7 separate regions of the Homo sapiens genome follow, and regions 1, 2, 3, 4, 6 and 7 are each linked to region 5. Evidence: promoter capture Hi-C in 16 types of primary human blood cells and fetal thymus (Javierre and others, 2016). All regions are on one chromosome and are shown on one strand. The core of a region is centred on a gene start or on the middle of the fragment in contact, and the rest is flanking DNA. Distances in the headings are between cores, read along the strand shown.

What was found. Contacts are between HindIII fragments. The CHiCAGO score rates a contact against its expected background, and 5 or more counts as called.
Region 1: a contact is called between a fragment that was not itself captured here and the fragment with the promoter of LEKR1 in region 5, in 3 of 17 cell types (non-activated CD4 T cells, monocytes and M2 macrophages). The highest score is 7.4, in non-activated CD4 T cells.
Region 2: a contact is called between a fragment that was not itself captured here and the fragment with the promoter of LEKR1 in region 5, in 1 of 17 cell types (total B cells). The highest score is 7.8, in total B cells.
Region 3: a fragment that was not itself captured here is called in contact with the fragment with the promoter of LEKR1 in region 5 in 10 of 17 cell types (total B cells, non-activated CD4 T cells, naive B cells and 7 more); the score reaches 12.8 in total B cells.
Region 4: a fragment that was not itself captured here is called in contact with the fragment with the promoter of LEKR1 in region 5 in 1 of 17 cell types (total B cells); the score reaches 8.4 in total B cells.
Region 6: a fragment that was not itself captured here is called in contact with the fragment with the promoter of LEKR1 in region 5 in 1 of 17 cell types (non-activated CD4 T cells); the score reaches 5.3 in non-activated CD4 T cells.
Region 7: a fragment that was not itself captured here is called in contact with the fragment with the promoter of LEKR1 in region 5 in 1 of 17 cell types (total B cells); the score reaches 5.5 in total B cells.

The regions. Positions count from the first base shown.
Region 1 is chr3:156,578,289-156,581,024 of GRCh38, forward strand. No RefSeq gene overlaps it. Among named protein-coding and RNA genes, the nearest start is that of SSR3, 25 kb to the left of the region's middle. The HindIII fragment of the contact is 2,506 bases long and covers 213-2,718 here.
Region 2 is chr3:157,018,275-157,021,214 of GRCh38, forward strand. All of the region lies in intron 10 of LEKR1 (leucine, glutamate and lysine rich 1), which reads left to right. Among named protein-coding and RNA genes, the nearest start is that of LINC02029, 62 kb to the right of the region's middle. The HindIII fragment of the contact is 7,622 bases long and covers 1-2,940 here.
Region 3 is chr3:157,055,691-157,058,617 of GRCh38, forward strand. No RefSeq gene overlaps it. Among named protein-coding and RNA genes, the nearest start is that of LINC02029, 25 kb to the right of the region's middle. The HindIII fragment of the contact is 642 bases long and covers 1,357-1,998 here.
Region 4 is chr3:157,037,291-157,040,212 of GRCh38, forward strand. All of the region lies in intron 12 of LEKR1 (leucine, glutamate and lysine rich 1), which reads left to right. Among named protein-coding and RNA genes, the nearest start is that of LINC02029, 43 kb to the right of the region's middle. The HindIII fragment of the contact is 1,358 bases long and covers 989-2,346 here.
Region 5 is chr3:156,824,840-156,827,696 of GRCh38, forward strand. LEKR1 (leucine, glutamate and lysine rich 1) reads left to right here and starts at 1,514. Exons shown (of 13, transcript NM_001004316.3): 1 at 1,514-1,537. RefSeq lists an enhancer at 1,987-2,046 and a silencer at 2,361-2,655. The HindIII fragment of the contact is 11,302 bases long and covers 1-2,857 here.
Region 6 is chr3:156,644,224-156,647,270 of GRCh38, forward strand. No RefSeq gene overlaps it. Among named protein-coding and RNA genes, the nearest start is that of TIPARP, 29 kb to the right of the region's middle. The HindIII fragment of the contact is 289 bases long and covers 1,443-1,731 here.
Region 7 is chr3:156,999,922-157,002,850 of GRCh38, forward strand. All of the region lies in intron 9 of LEKR1 (leucine, glutamate and lysine rich 1), which reads left to right. Among named protein-coding and RNA genes, the nearest start is that of LINC02029, 80 kb to the right of the region's middle. The HindIII fragment of the contact is 426 bases long and covers 1,386-1,811 here.

The DNA of each region.
Region 1 (2,736 bases), core at 216-2,715, 250 kb before region 5:
CAGTTCTGCTTCTTATAAATATTCTATAGGTCAATTTTTTTCCTACTTGACATTGTATAATACAGCTTCCCACTTTATTATAATGTCCTCATAAAGATTGTTTTTAATGTTTGCATTACATAATTTAATGAGGTCCCTATGGTTAAACATTTGTATTAATTTCTGATCTTTACTATCGTAAGGAACTCTGCCTTTCGTGTATTTATTCTTAAAGCTTTTACAATTTGTCACAATATTTAATAGATTAAGAAATATGAACGTTTTTGAGGCTATTGATTTAATTTGCTAAATTACTTTCTAAGTCGATTCCCTGTGGTCTGCGATGAGCACAGGCTTTGGAGTCACATCAGGTTGAATCACAGCTCCCTGGGCTGGAGAGAGACACTTAGAGGCCTTCAGCAACTATAAGTGTGTGGGGCTACCCACACACTCATTTAGGAAACTCAAATAAATACAACACCTAGCTGAAAATCGGTTGTGAGGATGGCTCATAATGAATGTTTCCCTGTGGTATCTACTTTAATGTTTTTATTTTTTAACATGAAATTGCAAATTCTATTTAAAATTTTTTTCTCAAAAATATTTTTTGAGGGGGGCCTCTACTTGACCAGCGCTATTGGCACATGTTTGGTTCATTTATGGAATCGTCTTTCCACAAAGGGTCCTTTGTACCAGTGAGACCTCAGCAAGTCAGTGGATCTCTTTAATCCTTATCCTTAAACTGCAGATAATAATAATACTCATTTCACTGGAATAAGGGTTAAATCCATTTGCTTGCTTTGCATACTGCTTGCCATGTAGTAAGCACTGGATAAATGATAGCTGCTGTTATTATTTTTAAAGAGCTACGGGAGTTTACATTCTCAAATGCCAGCAAAGTACGGCAGTACTCACCATCAAAAAAATCTTTTGTCATGTAGTAGTTTTTAAAAAACAGATTCTCAATCTTGCTTAATTTACCTTTCTTTGCTTACTAATGAGGCTGAAACTTTTCCATATGTTAATTAATTGGTTATATTCCCATTTAGAATTGCCGAAACTTCTTTTCCAAGTGTTAGTTAATTGTTTATATTCCCATTTAGAATTGTGTGTTCTATGGGTTCAAACCTCAGTTCTTCAATTTACTTGCACTATTTAGGCCTTTGGCAGTGAGCAATGGAACACCCAGTTTCCACAGGACTAAATATTAAGGAAATGTACTATCTCCCAAAAGAGGAAGTCCCTAAATAGAGCTGCATGGGGGAAGGGATGAGTATGATTAGGGCTCAGACCTTTTTCCCTGAGATGGTGTGGCTCTGCCCCACCCACTTGATCATGAGATCATGCACTTGCAAACATTCAGTTAAAAAAAAAAAACGTGCTATAAGTTGGACATTTCTAGTTGATCCAGGTAGAAACGGAGGGTCAGAGATGTGTAGAGGCATGCCTAGTCACTTATCTAATGAGGCACCTTATGTTTTTGCCTATGAGACAGCTATTTCTTCCCAGCCCCACCTCAGCCAGGTTCATAATCAAACTCTGATTTCCTTCAGATAGCCACTCCTCCATCCTCCATCACCCTGTGTTCAGGTGAAGACTTCCATGTATCACACTTACACACAACAGCATCCAGAAACAAAAAAAGGCACTGTCTGTTTATAAGGGCAAAAAATTATTTTCCAAAGCCCCTGAGATGATTTCTCCCTCTCTTGTGAGCCAGAATTTGCCACATATCCACTCCTAATCACTGGAATCACACCTTCCATTCCACATTGAGACGATTCAGAACCCACTTCCTGGTCTGGGGAGGAGGCCAGACTCCCTTGAACACAGGGAAAAAGTACCTGCAGGGAATCAGGGTTCAATTATGAACCTGGCTGCGGTGGGGCTAGGAAGAAACAGTTATTTCGTAGGAAAAAACAAAAGATGCTCCATTAGGTGAATTACTATGCACACCCCTATATAACTCTGACCCTGAGTTTCTACCTGGGTTGACTGGACACATCCACCTTGAAGTGTTTTTTTAACTGAATGTTTGCAAAGTATCCAGCACAGACCTGGCCTGGGGTAGATGTTTAGAAATTATGTTTTTGCTGATTTCAATTCATATGCATGAGCATTTTACATAATAAGCTGTTTTTCATATTGATGCAAAAGTTATTCTAAGTTTATTGAGAATGTTTTAATTAAAAGACTAAAACACTTATAGAAATTTATAATGTTTGTGTGGTCAAGTGCACTATTTTTTTCTTTTTTACATTTCTTCCAACACTTTCAAGTTCAGAAACTACCCCCGATCCCTTTTTACTTCCTCTCACTTACAACTACTACAAAGGCATATATTTTTTCATCTTGGTATTTTAAATTTGATTTGTTATGTTCTTTTTACTCCATATTGGATTTGGTACGATGTTAACTATAAAATGAGGATCTATTCTGATTTATTTCCTAAACATGTATTCAATTGTTTCAGTATCATTTACTAAATAATGATTTAACTCGTAGATTTTGATGCCTACTTTATGACAGATTATATTCTCACAACATCTCTCCTCATGAAAACCAGAGGAGTAGGGAAAAAGCACCCCACCCACACCCTTCTACACACACTGCAACCAAATCTATCAATTTAATAATTGACAGTTGTATAAAATTTAGTCTTTTCACCTGGTCAACTATTCTTCATTTTCTCAAATCTTCCTTTAGCGCATTCAGTAGATTTTCTGTAGTTTTGAACCAAGCTTGGGTATTACCTGG
Region 2 (2,940 bases), core at 260-2,759, 190 kb after region 5:
AAATGGTATAAATTTATTAACAGATATATTGAACGATATTGTTAACAAACTTGACCTAAATTATATTTATAGAATTCTCAATTTGACAGCAGAATACACATTCTTCTCAAGTGCACATGAACATCTTACCAAAATCGACCATATTTTGGCTTATAAATAAGTCTCAATAAGTTTAAAAGGATTCACATCATACAAATATTTTCTCTGACCACAATGAAATAAAATTAGAAATCGTTAGCAGAAAGTTATCTGGACAATCCTTAAATATTTTGAAACTAAATAAATACCAAGACCACGCCCTGAGCCCACTATGCTGTACAGATGTAGGGGTTGGGGGGACAGCTTACATGAAAAAAAAACTAAACACACTGAGCTATAGAGTTCACCGGCAACACCTGAGTATACACATTGTTTCCACCTTGTAGTTGCTCTATGATCTTGGTGAAGTTACTTACTTCTCTGAGCCTATCTCTTAATCGAGACAGTGGGAGTAATACTTCTATTATTCTATGTTATTCTTAGAGTTGTAAGAATTAAAAGAGTTAATATATAGAAAGTGTCCTATACCATACCACCCTAGCTTGTATTCATTTACTCAGTGAACATTCTCTCCTTCCAACCTAAGTTCACATAGTTCTTGACAGGATTTGACCTGCAGCCTACATATTCTGATTCCTTAGCATTCATTTTTTAACTGCAAATTCTGTTTTGAATAATCATCTGCTTTTATTATTTATTCAGTAGCTATTTCAGAAATAATCTAAAGTACTGTAATAATTTGCAATCAGTATTCATTTTTAAGTTTTGTAAAATAGTACAATAATTTATTTTAGGAGCCATATCTTTAAAAATTATATATGCATATCAAATATAAGCAAATTATTTGATTCCTACTTTGGCATCTAAAATTCCCATTGGTTTTAAAGGTATCATTGAGTAATAAATGGTCATATTATAACATGGTGTTTGGCTCCATGTTCAATAAGAAAAATGATAATAACAAAGTCAACCACAAAGACCTCGCTTGGAAAATAGTGAAAAGGCAGTATTTTGCATATTGGTATTAAATACAGATTTTATAAAGTACTAATTATGCATTTCAACAACAAATACAAAAGAAATTTAAAAACAATGCTCTGAATGCTCTGGAGTCATCCGGTGGCCTTCACCAAGGAGATGGAGTTTCAGCTAGAAGAGGATATAGATAAATAAAAACCAAAAATAATTAAAACCTGGGATGTGTACAAAGATAATAATTGATTTTACTTTGTGTAATTCTTAAGTTAATATTATTCATGCTTTTTTAGAAATCATAATTTTCTTCTTATCAAAATTACTATTAGTTATTGTATAAAGTGGTTCATGCTTTATATGTACACCATCAACAAATTTATTTATTTTGCTCAAACATAACTCCTGTCATCTAAAATATTTTAAATTATCAGCTCCTATCAACATTTAAAAATAAAAACATGGCAATTTGGCATGAATGCACCTACTGAAAGGCAAATAATGTACCCCTTAAGCAAATCGTTGTGTTTATGGGCTCATAATTTTGTTCAAACTAATCAGATCATGAAGGAACCAGTAATCTCATTTCTCTGTGCTAACACGTCAACACATTCAGATGGCTCTTAGCATCCCACTGCAGCTTTCCTAAGTGTTTGAAATCCCATGTGAAAACTCATCACTCTGCTTCTTTTTCTCAGATTGTGCAAATTAAAAACAAAGCTAGTAATAGTCAATCATTCTTCTCCCTTTTGTCTACAGTGCTTGTTCTTTCCCACTGTCCATATATTTATTCCTTCCTTGTTTTCTCTCTTTACCTACAGTAGTTCAAAGAATAGTTCAGGGGCAACAAGATCTTGCTTTCTAACTCGAGTAAAACAGAACATTCAGCTCATTCAAGCCATCAGCCATCACCTTTTCTTCCCTGAATATTTTATTTCAACTTCATCAAAGGGACCCTGCTGATTTTCTTTTATTATTATTATTATTATTATTATTATTATTATTATTATACTTTAAGTTTTAGGGTACATGTGCACAATGTGCAGGTTAGTTACATATGTATACATGTGCCATGCTGGTGTGCTGCACCCATTAACTCGTCATTTAGCATTGGGTATATCTCCTAATGCTATCCCTCCCCCCTCCCCCCACCCTACATCAGTCCCCAGAGTGTGATGTTCCCCTTCCTGTGTCCATGTGTTCTCGTTGTTCAATTGCCATCTATGAGTGAGAACACGCGGTGTTTGGTTTTTTGTCCTTGCGATAGTTTACTGAGAATGATGATTTCCAATTTCATCCATGTACCTACAAAGGACATGAACTCATCATTTTTTATGGCTGCATAGTATTCCATGGTGTATATGTGCCACATTTTCTTAATCCAGTCTATCATTGTTGGACATTTGGGTTGGTTCCATGTCTTTGCTATTGTGAATAATGCCGCAGTAAACATACGTGTGCATGTGTCTTTATAGCAGCATGATTTATGGTCCTTTGGGTATATACCCAGTAATGGGATTGCTGGGTCAAATGGTATTTCTAGTTCTAGATCCCTGAGGAATCGCCACACTGACTTCCACAATGGTTGAACTAGTTTACAGTCCCACCAACAGTGTAAAAGGGTTCCTATTTCTCCACATCCTCTCCAGCACCTGTTGTTTCCTGACTTTTTAATGATTGCCATTCTAACTGGTGGGAGATGGTATCTCATTGTGGTTTTGATTTGCATTTCTCTGATGGCCAGTGATGATGAGCATTTTTTCATGTGTCTTTTGGCTGCATAAATGTCTTCTTTTGAGAAGTGTCTGTTCATATCCTTCACCCACTTTTTGATGGGGTTGTTTGTTTTTTTCTTGTAAATTTGTTGGAGTTCATTGTAGATTCTGGATATTAGCCCTTTGTCAGATGAGTAGGTTGTGAAAATTTTCT
Region 3 (2,927 bases), core at 428-2,927, 230 kb after region 5:
GCCTGGCCAACATGGTGAAACCCCATCTCTAATACAAAAATGAACCGAGCGTGCTGACACAAGCCTGTAGTCCCAGGTACTCAGAGGCTGAGGCAGGAGAATCGCTTGAACCCGGGAGGCGGAGGTTGCAGTGAGCCGAGATCATGCCATTGCACTCCAGCCTGGGTGACAGAGTGAGACTCCATCTCAAAAAAACAAAACAAACAAATAATAATCATAAAAAGAAACTGGACCTTCATTGCTGTGCCAACTGGGTGCTGCCCCTCAAGGCACCGAAGGCCACTTTGCTGGGAACATTCTAAGATGGCAAGTCTGAAAAAAAGGCTAAAAAAGTTTGTGTGAGTGGTGGTGGGGAGGGAGAGATGAGCAGTGGTGTTAGATCCTGGGACGTGGAATTCTCTCTGTGCAGCAATGATGTCAGAAGACTAAGCAGCATGTATAGAGAAGTTGGCTATGTTGGAAGATTCCAGGTACACCACAGTAGTAGCAGCAGCAGCAGCAGTATAGTAACAATAACATTATAGGAGCTGACAGGTATTATTTATGATGGGCAATGTATGGTGCTCAGGGCTTTAAACACTTTTAGACCTCAAAGAACCATGTGGTGTTGGTATGTTTACTGGTTTCCTTTTACAGATAAGAAAACAGAGCTATAGAAAAGTTAGCAATTCACTCAAACTGACACAGGTAAGAAGTGGCAAAGCCTGGATTAGGCAAATAGGCACAAATAAACTGGGAACTGGACTAGAGGCTATGCACATCATCTTGCCCTCCAGTTGTGCCTCTGAGAAGGAATATGCTGCTCAACCCTGAGCAAATTTGAAGACATCTCTGTGTCCTTTTGGTGACCAAACAAACAAACAAAGAACTCAGAAACTATGGCAAAAAGCATTACAGAACAAAATAAAGAAGTAGCACGTAGGACCAAGAAAAAAAAAACCCATGGAAAGGATCCACTGTGGAATCTTATAAGGATCCTTTAGGAAGCTATTTAGCATCCTGTCGAAGCACGATATTATAGACCGCATTCCTTTTTTAAAATATCACTTTCTATATTAAGTCTTGAGGTCTTGAACTTTCTGCTTCATTTCTTTAAAAAAAAAATGGTATTCCATCTCTAGCCTTAAAAATACCAGGTCCTCCTAAATACAAAGGAGAAAAAGTATTAATATAGGAGTGAAAGGAGAAGGAGAACTAACAAACAACACAGCAGTTCACAAGATAAAATTCTCAGATAAAGTCAAAGGCCAAATTTTACAAGAATAAAAACATGTTCTAAATCTAGTAACCGTAAGAGCGCTCTTGAAAACTGTCTATAAACGTCCATTTTTGAGAGACAGGCCTTCAAAAGTTTAAAGCTTCTTTTATGGAATAAAGCCTTTTATTCCCAAAGGACATCTACGCTACTTATTCACTGTTAGTAGCAGTATGAAATTAACACTCATGATTTTAGAGTGTGTATAAACTCCCATTGTTTTGTTATCATGCAGAGGATCTTAAAACTCTATCTTTGTTCTTTTTGCTTTGATTTATTTCTACCTTCTTATGTGCTTTCTATTTTTCTAGCTTTCTGCCCTGTCTCTTGCCATCTTTTTTGTTTTCTTCTTTTGCTTATTCCTCTCCCCACCTCCTCTACCTTCTGCTTCTTTGGAAGCAATTATCTCTATTTTAATTTTAGGAGTTACCATAGACATGTTAACGTGCTTGCTTAAAGTTAATTTCTTGATGCTGTACCCAAGCAATGCAGGAACCATAGAATACTTTATAATTTTTCATCTTCTTCCATTTTGTATTATACTTTGGCTAGTATTTGGATTCTATATTGTTTTTTAATCTCACAAATTAGATATTATTATTATTTTTACATGTAGCCAATGTTTATTTAGCTTTACCCAATGTATTTTTTGATTTATTTGTCCACAATTTTTTCTCACATCTCAGACCTTCCTGCATCTGGCCTCATAATCTTACTGCCTAAAGCAATTATTTCTTTCCAAAAGCTTTATTTGATTTTCTTCAATGTGCTAGATTTTGTAAAAACTATTATTCCTTGCTTGTAAACTTTTCATTTCTTTAAACACATCAAACTTGCTATTTTATATTCCGAGTCTAATAATCTTTATGGATCTGATTTTACTGTTTATTGTTTTTGATGGTTCTCATTCATGGTGCTTTGTTTTCCCGTGCTCATCCTCAAGGCGGGCTAGATCTTTCTCAAGGAAAGGTGACTATGTGTATATGTGTTTCAATGTGAAGTTGTGTCCCTTGGAACCTTATCTATAAGAATTCTTTGAGACCTAATTGAGATTGCATTTTTCCAGAGAAGATTTGCATTTGTCCCTCCCAGTTAATTATACAAACATTCTGAGACCACTTCAATTAAAATTCTTTTTTGATTTTTCATATGTGGGGGATATAAATTCATACAAAAAGCCAGGTGAGGGTCAGGTTGTAGTTACAGATTCTGAAGTGAGATTTTCTACTACAGTCAGCCCTCTGTATCTGTGGGTTCCATATCATGGATTCAACCAACCAGTGATTAAAAGAAATAAACAATAAAAAATAACAATGCATTAATTTTTAAAAGACAAAGTTTTTAAATGCAGTATAACAAGTATTCACATAGCATTTACATTGTATTAGGTATCTTAAGTAAATCTGGAGATGATTTAAAGTATACGGCAGTAAGTATGTACATTATATGCAGATTCTATGCCATTTTATATAAGGGACTTGAACATGGTATCTGTGAGAGTCTTGGAACCAATCTCTCAAGGATACCAAGGGACAACTGTATAAATTTCAAGTGAGATTGTGTTTACCATCGCCACTGGCCAAAGACATGCAGTGCCTCTCCACTCTGTTCTTCCCCTTCAGTGCACATGGCAAAGGCCTAGAAATGTTACAAGTTGGGCTGGGTGTGAGTG
Region 4 (2,922 bases), core at 418-2,917, 210 kb after region 5:
TTGTGAGTTTTAGTATTATTTTACTTTTTAGCTATATGTAATCCATTAATTTTAAAAAATTAAAAATAATAGAAAGGAATAAAGTATAAAAAGGACCTAGTAGAGAAGGTGGCAGAGACAAGAATAAAGGTCAAGCAAGGAATATTGAAGAAAAATCAGGAAAGTTACAAGTAAAACAAAAGCAACAGAATATAAACCTTAATGAGATTTTCTTTTCAGATTATGAGAAATGAAAAAATTAAGACAAAGCAGATTCTAGCTTAAACTTAGTAACAGGTGCCTAGTACACTTCTGTTTATTCCCCAAGTCTAAGTGCAAGGAGAACCCCTCCATGAATCCACAAAATCCCAGAGGCAAAATTAGCTATACACCTGTGTGCCTACTGCAGTTGCTTATTTATGCATTCATTTAACAGGTAAAGAGTTTTGTTGTTTTTATAGATGCTAAGGAAAAAATAAATCAGGGTAAAAGGGATACTTTCTGAAGGAGGGGTGCTATATTAGATGGGGTAGTAAGAGGACTCTGAGGAAATAATGAGGCAAAGAGCATTCCAGGGAAAGAACACTCCAGGCAAAGGTAATAGAAAGACTCTGCAGCAAGGAACATACTGGGAACCTTAAAGAAGCCACAAGGAAGTCAGCAAGCACTGCTGGAGCTTAGTGAGCAAGGATAGTGATAGAAACCAAGGTTGAAGGGCCAGTTCACATGGAGTCTTCGTAGGCTATGATAAGGTCTTTGGATACTTTGCTAGGTGTGATAGAAAGCCACCTAGGAATTTCGAACAAGGAATTGACATGATCTGACTTATTTTTAGAGGATAACTGACTTCTGTGTAGAAAATAGGTTGAAGAGGGCAAAAAAGAGAGCAAGGCTGTGAAGGAGGTGACCAATCACCAGATTTGGGATATATTTTAGGGGTGAAGGCAATAGAGGTTGCTGATTGATTGGATGATATGAAAGCATAAAAAGGAGTCAAGGATAACTCCAAAGCTTGGAATCTCAGCAACTGAGAGAGTGCTGAGATGGGAAATGCTAGAAAAGAAATACAATTGGGGAGGAATATCAAGAATTTTATTTGGGACATGTTGATCTTAATATGCCTGTTAGATACCCAAGTGGAGATGTTGACTAGGCAATATGTCCATAGGGAAGGCAAGCTGGAGATGTCGATTTTGGACAATTCCACATGTAGCTGATACTTAACCCTTGGGACTGAATGAGATCACCCAGAGGATGAGGTAATAGAGCAAGGGTTGAGAACAGGCACTCTTAACTTTTAGAGCCTGGGAAGAGGAGTAGAATCTAGCGATGGTGACAGAAAAGGAACTTCTGGTGAGGTGGGAAGAAAACCGGAAGAGAACACTATCAAGGACTCTAAAGAAAGACTGTATTTAAAGAAGGGTACATGCAATATAGACAGGCCCACAGTCCCTTATCTGAAAACTTTGTGCTCAGATATAAAATTATTTTGAATTTTAGAAAGTTAGTAAGTACAGTATGTCCTCATAGATGTAGGGCAGCCTCCCCATGCAATGACATTAATACTTCTGCAGTGAAACATCTGAATGTTCACATGAAATAGAATAAAGACTGTAATTAGCCTCCTATCAGTTCAGTCAGATTTTATCACTAACTGTGATGAGCTACAGCATTTTTTTCTTTTCAGAGCTTTTTGGATGTCAAAAGTAAGGCTAAAGGACTATAGATCTGTATTGGCTTTCATTAAAACAGCTGTTTTTATTGTTTATTGCCCAACAATCTCCTAGCATCTCGAATCTCTTTTGTTTAAAAAACAAAGGAAAGTACATGTGTATCTCTACAGGGCTACCAAGATGATAGGAAAAAATCAAGGATTTGCCTCCTATTAACAGTGGTTACCTTAGAAGTGTAGGAAGAGATAGACAGGGGTTTTACTTCTTACATACTTTTTAAAAACATTGGCATCATGGGTTATTTTTAACATTTTGGTGTTTTGAAAATATGTTTCCAATGTAAACTCTATTTTTAAAAAAAGAAAGAAAGAAATTCCATTTACATAAGAAAGTTCAGGCCAAGTGTGGTGGCTCACGCCTATAACCCAGCATTTTGGGAGCTCAAGATGGGAGGATTGCTTGAGCTTGGAGTTCAAGACCAGCCTGGGAAACATAGGGAGACCCTGTTTTTACAGAAAATACAAAAATTAGCTGGGCATGGTGGCACACGCCTGTAGTCCCAGCTACTTGGGAAGCTGAGGAAGGAGGACTGCTTGAGCCTCGGGGGTTGAGGCTATAATGAGCCGTGATCGTGCTTCTGTACTCGAGCCTGGGCAACAACCTGAAACCCTGTCTCAAAAAACGAAAAGAAAAAAGCTTATTAACAAATCTAGCAAAGACGGATTCATGTAAACTCTAAGATTAAATTTTAATAATACATGGTATTTGCAAGCACAAATAGTTTATTTGCAAGAGGGACTTGCTTAGTTTTAGGGTAAGCATTTATTACATTTGCATGTTTAATCAGTATACAGAATATGGCACACACTTCTCTGGTAATTCCTTCTATGAGAATGGAGAAGCCAAAGTACCAGCAAGTAAATTACCAAAAAGTAGTTCTCAGTTTGGGAACATAATAAATTAGAATATTTACGTCTTTTTTAAAGAGTAAGAGGGTAAAGGGAGGTTCTCCAACCTCCAGCAGGAAACATGGGGAGGATCAAGAAAGCTTTTAGGGACAGGGACTATACCTAGGCTTGGTTGGCAGGGAGGATGAGTGAACTGACCACCTGAGAACCTTAGCCTTGGGCCATGGGGCAGAAGGGGGCTCAGACTGGGAGTCTCTGTGGTGAGGAAGATACCAGAAAGTTGACAGAATGAGAAGATATATTGAGAAATTTTTGTATATTTAATTAGTGCTAGTTAAATTTTGTATGTTTAATTAGTGCTA
Region 5 (2,857 bases), core at 264-2,763:
ATGTTATAGTTGACCACTTGGTTGACTGTCCTCTAGGCCTCTTAATCCTTTCTTCTTTGAGGGAGTGGAAACAGAAAATCAAGGGTAGGCATTGGGGCAAAAATATCAGTCAGGTTAAATGTACAAGATACATCTACTAGACTTTTTTTTTTTTTTTTTTTTTTGAGACTGAGTCTTGGTCTGTCGCCCAGGCTGGAGTGCAGTGGCATTATCTCGGCTCAGGGTAAGCTCTGCCTCCCAGGTTCACGCCATTCTCCTGCCTCAGCCTCCCGAGTAGCCCAAGTAGCTGGGACTACAGGCGCCCGCCACCACGCCCGGCTACTTTTTTGTATTTTTAGTAGAGACGGGGTTTCACCGTGTTAGCCAGGATGATCTCGATCTCCTGACCTTGTGATCTGCCCGCCTTGGCCTCCCAAAGTGCTGGAATTACAGGCCCGAGCCACCGCGCCCAGCCACATCTACTAGACTTTTTAGTGCCAAGGAACAAGGCACTAGTGTTCAGTACTTCCTGGTGTCATTAATTAGTAGTTATCAATAAGCAGTTTGGTGTACCGATACTGCTCTGCGTCATTTAATCACTTCTCTAAATCTATAGGTTCAATTAATTTTCTTTGTATTTACTTAATCTTATTTTATTCAATAGCAAACCAGTCTCTTTGCCTGCTACAGAGCCATCGATGTTTTCTTTGGTTCTTGGAAGAACTGTACTTCGACCTTATATAATCCTCAGAAAGGCAAGATCTGGACTACGAATGAGTCACCTGCTAATTACACCAATGGCTGCTCCTGCCTTGACCAGTCACAGAGTATCACCCTATCTCGGTATGCTGCTCTGCTTGTCGCGTAGTAGGTCTATAAATACTTGTTTTATGAATGAATGTATGAACAAAGGGAAGTTAGTCACGTGTAAGGGTGGGTAGCCTGCGATAAATAAAGTGTAGACTAGGAGGTCTCAAAATACTTTTTGAACTAAGCCCTTAATCTTCACTACTTTGGACTAGAATGGAAATGTCACCAACGCCTTCCCAATTAATTTGTCCTGGCTGTAATGACTGAAACCAGAACTTCCCTTTACACCCATGACCTCTACAGGCATCTCTTTTTCCTCTGCTCAAGAACAGTAACTGCTCACTGCTGTGTCTACCACATAGGCCCCAGAGCAAGGGGTGATAGGTAGGGCTATAGGCTCCCGACTCCCGACTCCCGGCAGTGCCTCTCTCCAACCCCCCACGAGGCTGGGACAGCTCCCTCCATCTCAGCAGTCGCTACCAAGCACCCGACCCACTCTCGCCCACCTCATCCCTCGATCCCCTTCCCTCCCTCTCACAGCATTCCGCGTAAGACTAGCCCAGCCTTCCGAGCCCCACCACCAGTTTTCCCACTTCCGCCCGGCGCGTGAGACCCTGGGCGGTGCAGGGGAGCGTTGACGACAGACGTGGGCCGTGACGTCGCCGCGCCCTGACGTCCAGCCGACTGGCGGCGCGGTCGCCCGGGAGACCGGGAAAGCCGTTTCACACCCGTCCTAGTCGAAGTCGAGGTGAGGGACGATGGCTTTCCTCAGCCTGGGATGACCCGGTCCTCCAAATGCAGTTCCGGAGTGGAGGCGTGCTCGCACCCGGGGAGAGAGCCAGAAAGCTGAGCCGCGGCGCCCCAGCGAGAGCACGAGGCCCCGGGTCTGGACTCCGCCACCACGCTCCTCTGCGGCCCCTTCCTGGTGTCTGCCAGCCCGCGGGGCCCAGGCGCGGTCCGCCTTCCTCCCAGCCCCGGGGAACGCGCGGCTCTGCTTCCTCACCCCCGCACCCTCCTCCTCCTCCTCTTCCGGCCACTGCAGGTCCAGGGGGAACGGGGTTAGAAAGGGACAGATTTGAAAGCCATTCCAGCAGTTTTGTCTGGCCTTGCGGTTGGTTTCTGTGTGGAAGAGCCTGCCGCTTCAGGAAAGTCTTAGGATGTGAACTCCCGCCTTCACCTGCCCCTGACCTGCTCGTTGTGGGTGATTCACGCCATGGGAATGGTTCTTTACGTAAGGGCTTGAAAGCTGAACGTGAGTTAATGGCCTGACGTGACACTAGTGTGAGAAACGGAATTGGAAACGAACAAGGACGTGTCTGCATTTTAAAAAATGTCTTTTCGGTGATCTTGTTAGAGAGGAGGTTCACAAACACCCACGTAGCTGCAGCCACTTATCACTGCACCTCTTGCCAAAGTGCGGTCCACATACGTGCAATGAGAAAGGATTAAAGGGACTTGTTTGATAACACACGCAAAACTATGTAAGACTAAATTTAAAAAATTACAGATTTTCCCTGTTGCCAAAAGGGAAAGACCCTTCTTTTTTCTTGAGAAACTTAGTATTTGTGAATGCTTCCTCTATTTAATATGTATGCAAATGTTTTTAAAGACCTAGGAATGCTTTTCTTGAGGACCTGGAAGCCATTTCTTTAAAATGTAAACATCAAGGAAGATAGGGCCCCAGTCTCCTTGTCACTTTGGGAGTTTAACCTAGGTGCGTTATTCCTAATTGTAAACACCTGTTTCGTTATGGAGCTGTGCATTACTTAGGAGGAAAGCCGTTAGCTAACACAGGTGGTTACCCCAATTACCAGATGAATTAAAGAGGAAATATAAAAGAATGTATAGAACACTATGTTAAGCCCTCTTACATGAGGACACGTTACCAGTTTCCTTGAGAATGTGTAATGGATTGTGTCTCCTTGGCTGTATAAAAGAGGGATTTCCTTCTCTCTTTGTAACCTCATTAGCAGATTAGCCGTGATGTGCATCAAAGTCTAGTTGAATGCCTAATAAAATTGTTGTCTTTCTGCATTGTGGAGCATTTTCTGGGTTGGCAGGACTTTTA
Region 6 (3,047 bases), core at 337-2,836, 180 kb before region 5:
GTGAGCCTATAACTCATTTCAAGCCTGCTGTTGAAACCTAACTTTCCTCAGCCAGAACAGCCACAAGAAGTTATGGTTTATTTTCCCCCTCCTCCCTTGCTCTGCTCTGCCATCCCCCCAGTATAGAAGACTATGTCTGGCTTTTCTATTTTTGCTGTTGATGAGATAGATACAGTGCTAAGGGTAAGACAGTGTGTTCAAAATAGTGAGGATACATAGGATGAATTTGTTTTAAACAATATTTTAGTTATATTTCCAAATAATATGCTGAATATTTTTTTCTTCAACCTCCAGACCGCCTTTCAGGTGAAGCATCTCTAAAAATAATGCAATGGGTCCAATTGTTGATCTGAAAAAAGTACAATAAAAACACTACAAGAGCATCCAGAAGTCTGGAAACACAGGTGAAATTGTGCACTTCTTGTTTCAGATTTACAGCTAAATCCACTGCCTTAAATGTAGAGATTCATCACCTGAAACATGGTTGAAAACAAAAATATATTGAGTATTTTTTAAATGTGAATACCATAATTTTAAAATGCCATTTTCTCCTATGCTTTGTCCTGTAATTTAAAAAATTTAACAAGTGGACACTATGATTGGTGTACATTCCTGCCTACAATCTTCCAAGTTAATTGGATTAATGTAAGAGCTACTTATCTACACATAAACCATCCTATGAAAAAGGCTGACCATTTCAAATTAGGAGTGAGCTTCTAATATTTATCAGAAAATACCAAAACTGAGCTTGATTTGGAGCTTTGCATTATAGTGAAATCCTGAAGCCTCCAATAAGAGTAGGAAAGGGTCACAGTATCCTATTTCTCTTTTACTCTGAAAATAAAATTCTAATTACATAAATATTCTGTCTGTATTACACAATAAATCTAAATAACTGAAAGAAAACTTTTGCCTACAATCTTGTCACCTCAGCAAATCCAACTTTTTGTTTGGCCCTGATCTTTTCTAGCCATTGTGGATAATCACAGTGGGTGCCTTCTGCCATTTTCAATTAATACAATTTCAGAAGCATGTTCCATGTTGCTGTGTAGTCCTTGTAATCTACATTTTAATAGCTACATCATCTTTTACATTATTTTCCTGTTGTCCAACATACATTTCATAATCTTTTCTATAAGAAATAATGCAGCGAATCTTTGTCTATTTGGCTTTTTTTCCCTTACGAATTACTTGTTCAGAATCTATTCTAAGAGGTAGGATCAAAGGTCAAAACCCTGGATATGAGGAGGTTTTTATTTCTTCTAGTGACTAAGGAACTCTGAAGGTTCCACCCACAGCCTCCCACCTTTTACATTTGAGATAGACATTTCTCCATCAGAAATGTATCCAGCCACTGCAGCAGCCCCACTGGAATGCTGGGACAAGCTCATGGTTCATTTTCGGGAAAGTAGAGGCTTAAACAGTATGATTTAACCCATACAAGCTTGTTATATGTTACACATAGTTCCTACAAGAAGTATCAACAACACTTTAAGATTATAATAATTTCACTGAAAAAACAACTCATAATCAAGTGGTGACATTGAAAGAGTTGTGTGCCCCTTTAATAAACACAAAATAGTCCTCATTTTTGTTTTAATTTGCATTTCTTTTACCACTAGTGAGGATGAAATCCTTTCCATGTATTTGTTTACTGGTTAGTTCCTCTTGGAAGAGGCATCTCTTTCCTCAGCTCATTTTGTATGAGCATTTTATAGAACACAGATTTTAAGCTTTTTCGTTAACGCTAGTGATATTTTCCAGTTTCTTTTCCCACTTTAATGTAATTTTAAAGTTATATTAATGAGCTATATTCACCTTCCGTTCTCACAGAATTGCTTCAGAAAACTTTGGATACTGGTTTTTATTCAAAGGGCAGATACAAATCACTAATATGCATGTTTCCAAAGGCAACAATAGAAAAGTATCAAGTGTTTGCATTTTTATAACATGCCAGGTATAAAGAATAGAAATGTTTTTTGTCAATGCTAAATTTATAAGTTTAACTCACTTTTTTGCACAGTATAAAAAGAACAATCAATTAAAATAGACTAGGACTCTGGGGAACCTCGAGGTAGGTCATGGGGTTAGAGACTTTGGAATGTGGAGAGACAGGAGCTGGGCTTTCTTGGGATGGCATAAGATAAAGGCATGTGATGCAGGATGGATATATGCAGGTGGACTGGCAAGCAATAAGATAAAAGAACATTTTCCTTTCTCTCATCTTTCCCATTTACTTTTCCTTACCCCTTTCTTATCACTGCATCTGATTTCCTTAAGAAGTAGTTTGCAATTATTTTTAATATCTTGCTTCCTTTCCTTTCTTTCTGCTCATTCCTTCCCAGCTCCTTTCTTTTCCTTTTCTCATTTGATGGCAGTATAATACAATTACAGTAGGGTCAGACAATCTGGGACCACGCCTTACCATTTCATATTGTTTGACTTTTGCCAGGTTACTCTCTGAGCCTTAGTTTATTCATCTCTAAAATAAAACAATAATAGTACCTATTTCTAGAAGGCTGTTATGAAGACAAAAGGAGAAAATATTTGAGTGCTTAGTACAGTATAGTAGACTACTTTATTGTTCACAAATATTTGGTGTTTCTCCCTGGGGGAGCATTAGACTTCCCAACCCCACTGATGTCAGCCTAGGCCATGAGATTTGATTTAACCAATGAAATATGAGTGAATGTGACACATGACATTTTGAGGAAGAAGACTGAAGAGCCAATACACCATTTGTCATGTTTCTCTTTTCCCTCTACCATAATGACCTGCAATGTTCCAGACAGCTATTGCTCCATTCCTCAAAGTCACATAGTAAAGAAAATATAGACTAAAATCAGAGCCAGCATACAATAAAGATCTAAAATAGCAAAAAAGAAACCTTTGTTATTACAAGTTATAAGTCACTGAGCTTTGGGGATTGCTTGTTATCACAGCAAACCTAGGCAATACTGACTAATGAACACAATATATGGCATATTGAAAGTGCTTAACATTCATTGCTAATATTATTCATGATTATTCTCTTTTCTCCTTTTATC
Region 7 (2,929 bases), core at 349-2,848, 180 kb after region 5:
TCTGTTGGGTCTGACCTTATAACTCATGTTCTCTTCTCTACTGTTTGCACAATTCCCTAAGTATTTGTCTTGAAGGGCTAAGTTTTGTCATCCTTTCTCAGTGTGACATCTTTCTGAACCATGTTGTAACACTGAGTCTTTAGGAGACTCACAGCCCTGCAGAAAGCAACGCTCTTTTTGTGTCCCTTCTCCTCTCCTCTCAATTTCTTGTTCACCCCCAACCCCCTCAGTATTCTTCTCTTCACTCAATAAATATGAGATGGTGTCCTCTGCTTTCTAGTGCCTTGGTAGAATAAGAAGTAAAGCTATATCTTCAGATGGAAAATAGAATAAAAATAATTCACAACTGCATTCTAAAAATGTAAACTGTTTACTTATTTCATTGAGGCTTGTTATATTTTCATAAATTCTAGAAGCAATGACTAGTGATTAGCTATATCTAGTATTAGATAAGAAAAAGGATTAAGAAGTGATGCAAGATAAAGTCCATTCTTAGTTTAAAAAGAATGGACTTTAGAATTAGGTAAACATAGAGTAAATCCCAACTTGACCACTGTTAAGCTTGGGCAATTAAGGCTTCTTTTCCCTATCTGTAACGTGGGCATTTTAATAATAGCTATCTTCTTAAGAATTTTAAAATATTGTGCCTGGTAGGTTGTAGGTACTCAGAAAGTATTAGTTTCCTCTCTTTCATCTTTCTTTAGATTGCTAACATCTTAAAGCACCATGTCTTATTAATTTTTATTCCCTGCACCGGCCATGTAAGATATTCAGTAAATATCTGTTGAATTCATTATTATCTGCTTTACTCATACAGTTGTAAAGATTAATCCTTGGAGTGATTCCATTTGGATGCTGATATGGTTAGGCTTTGTGTCCCCACCCAAATCTCATCTTGAATTGTAATTCCCATAATCTCCAGGTGTCAAGGGAGAGAATAGGTGGAGGTAATTGAATCGTGGGGGCAGTTTCCCCAATGCTGTTCTTGTAATAGTGAGTGAGTTCTCAAGACATCTAACAGTTTTATAAGGGGCTCTTCCCCCCTTTTCTTGGCACATCTCCTTCCTGCTACATTGTAAAGAATGTGCCTTGCTTCCTCTTCATCTTCTGCCATGATTTGCCATAAGTTTCCTGAGGCCTCCCCTAGCCATGCTGAACTTTGAGTCAATTAAACCTCTTTCCTTCGTAAATTACCCCGTCTCAGGTATGTCTTTATAGCAGTGTTAAAACATACTATTACAGATGCTAATCTGTTAGTTTAAAGCATTATGAAATGTTCTAAGTAATAATTGAAAACAATAAATTTTATCAGGTTTTTTCTCCAAGACTCACCTCTTTCTCTGATTTCCTATCCATCAACAGCTCTCAGAACAAGAGGCTTGCCAAGCTTCTTATGTTATCACACACTCACTTCTTTTAACAGAGGCAGGAGTTGTGGCAAAATCAAAATTATCTCTTTGATTGACAATGTGAAGACATCTCTAAGAGAACAACTTGTGAAACAGAATTTAAAACTGTCATTTTGGCATTATGGTTTGACATTTGTTTGCAGTTATGTTTTTAACTGCAATTAAGGGAATCTGGATTCGCATGTACATAAGAAATAAGATTCTCATTTTCCTTTTGGTCCAATAATTTAATAAAGTTTTTAAAATAAATACTCTTAATTGTGAATAAGTCCTAATTGTGGCAACTCCAAAAATTTTAATTTTAAACCTATCTGGTGAAATTGCAGGGTAGAATGTCAATAGCCACACCTCCATCTGAGATATGCAAAGCAAAGACAGCATGACATACTGCTGGCTGGCATAAGCTTGAGTTAGCTTTGTCACTTGTGAATCATGTCACCTCAGATAGTCATTTATCACTCAGGTCTTCATTTCTTCTAAAACGGAGGGAGTTGTATTAACATATTTCTAAGGAATGAAAAGAAAGAACCACTATATCCCCAGAGAATAAAACAGTGCCAGACACATAGTCAGCTCTCAATATTTGCTGTAGGGATGGATGCATGCATGGATGGGAATGAATTTAATTTCTATCAAACAACTGATCATGGAATTTAAAACTGGGAAGCTCCAGTTTTTCTTTCAGGCCAGAGAGCTTTTGACTTTCAAAAATCAGACCTAGGAGTACAATGAGAACTCCTGGATTCTAATGGTAATCTTCTTTATTAGATTCTTAGTAAAATTTAAATTTAGAATCTAAATCTGTGTCGTTTCCTATAATTCTAAAACATCAACATCTCTTGAACTGGTTCTAGAAAAAGAAGTCAGATACCTAAATAGCTATACATTTTCAGCTACTTATAACATGGAAAAATATGTACTATGCCTTTACAATAAATATTTTATTTCTTACAATTCCTCTAAATTTCTAGCAAAAAGTCCTACGTGAGTCAGAGTTGGTTCTTCATAGTTTTTTTCAACACAAGATTGTTTTCTCTTTATCAATGGCCTAAGATTGTTTTATGATCTTGAACAATGTGTGAGCAGCCCCATGGTTGTACTGTACAAGTGTGATTTTTATTTTTGGAATCTAGATTATCTTTTTCACACATATAATCATTCCTGTATACGTTACTCACTGCCCATTCCATTCTAATCAAGAACAATGAGTGCATATAACATCACGTATAATTATTCTTTCTGCTTTATCCCATTAAAGAGTCTCACTGAAGATTTCTTAGAGTCAGGAATGGAGGCTCAGCAGGGAATCAAAGCGGTATAAAAGTCCTTCTCATTTCTGTAACCATAATATCAAGCAAAATTACCATCACAGATACAAATTTATATTTTTATAACAATTTACTCAAAACACCATATACTTTGTTAGAAATGTCATAAAGAACTTCATAATTCCTTGAAAATTCAGTGAATAATTATCACTTCATTAACATTGTTTGCATCCTAGCTTACTATATTTTAGC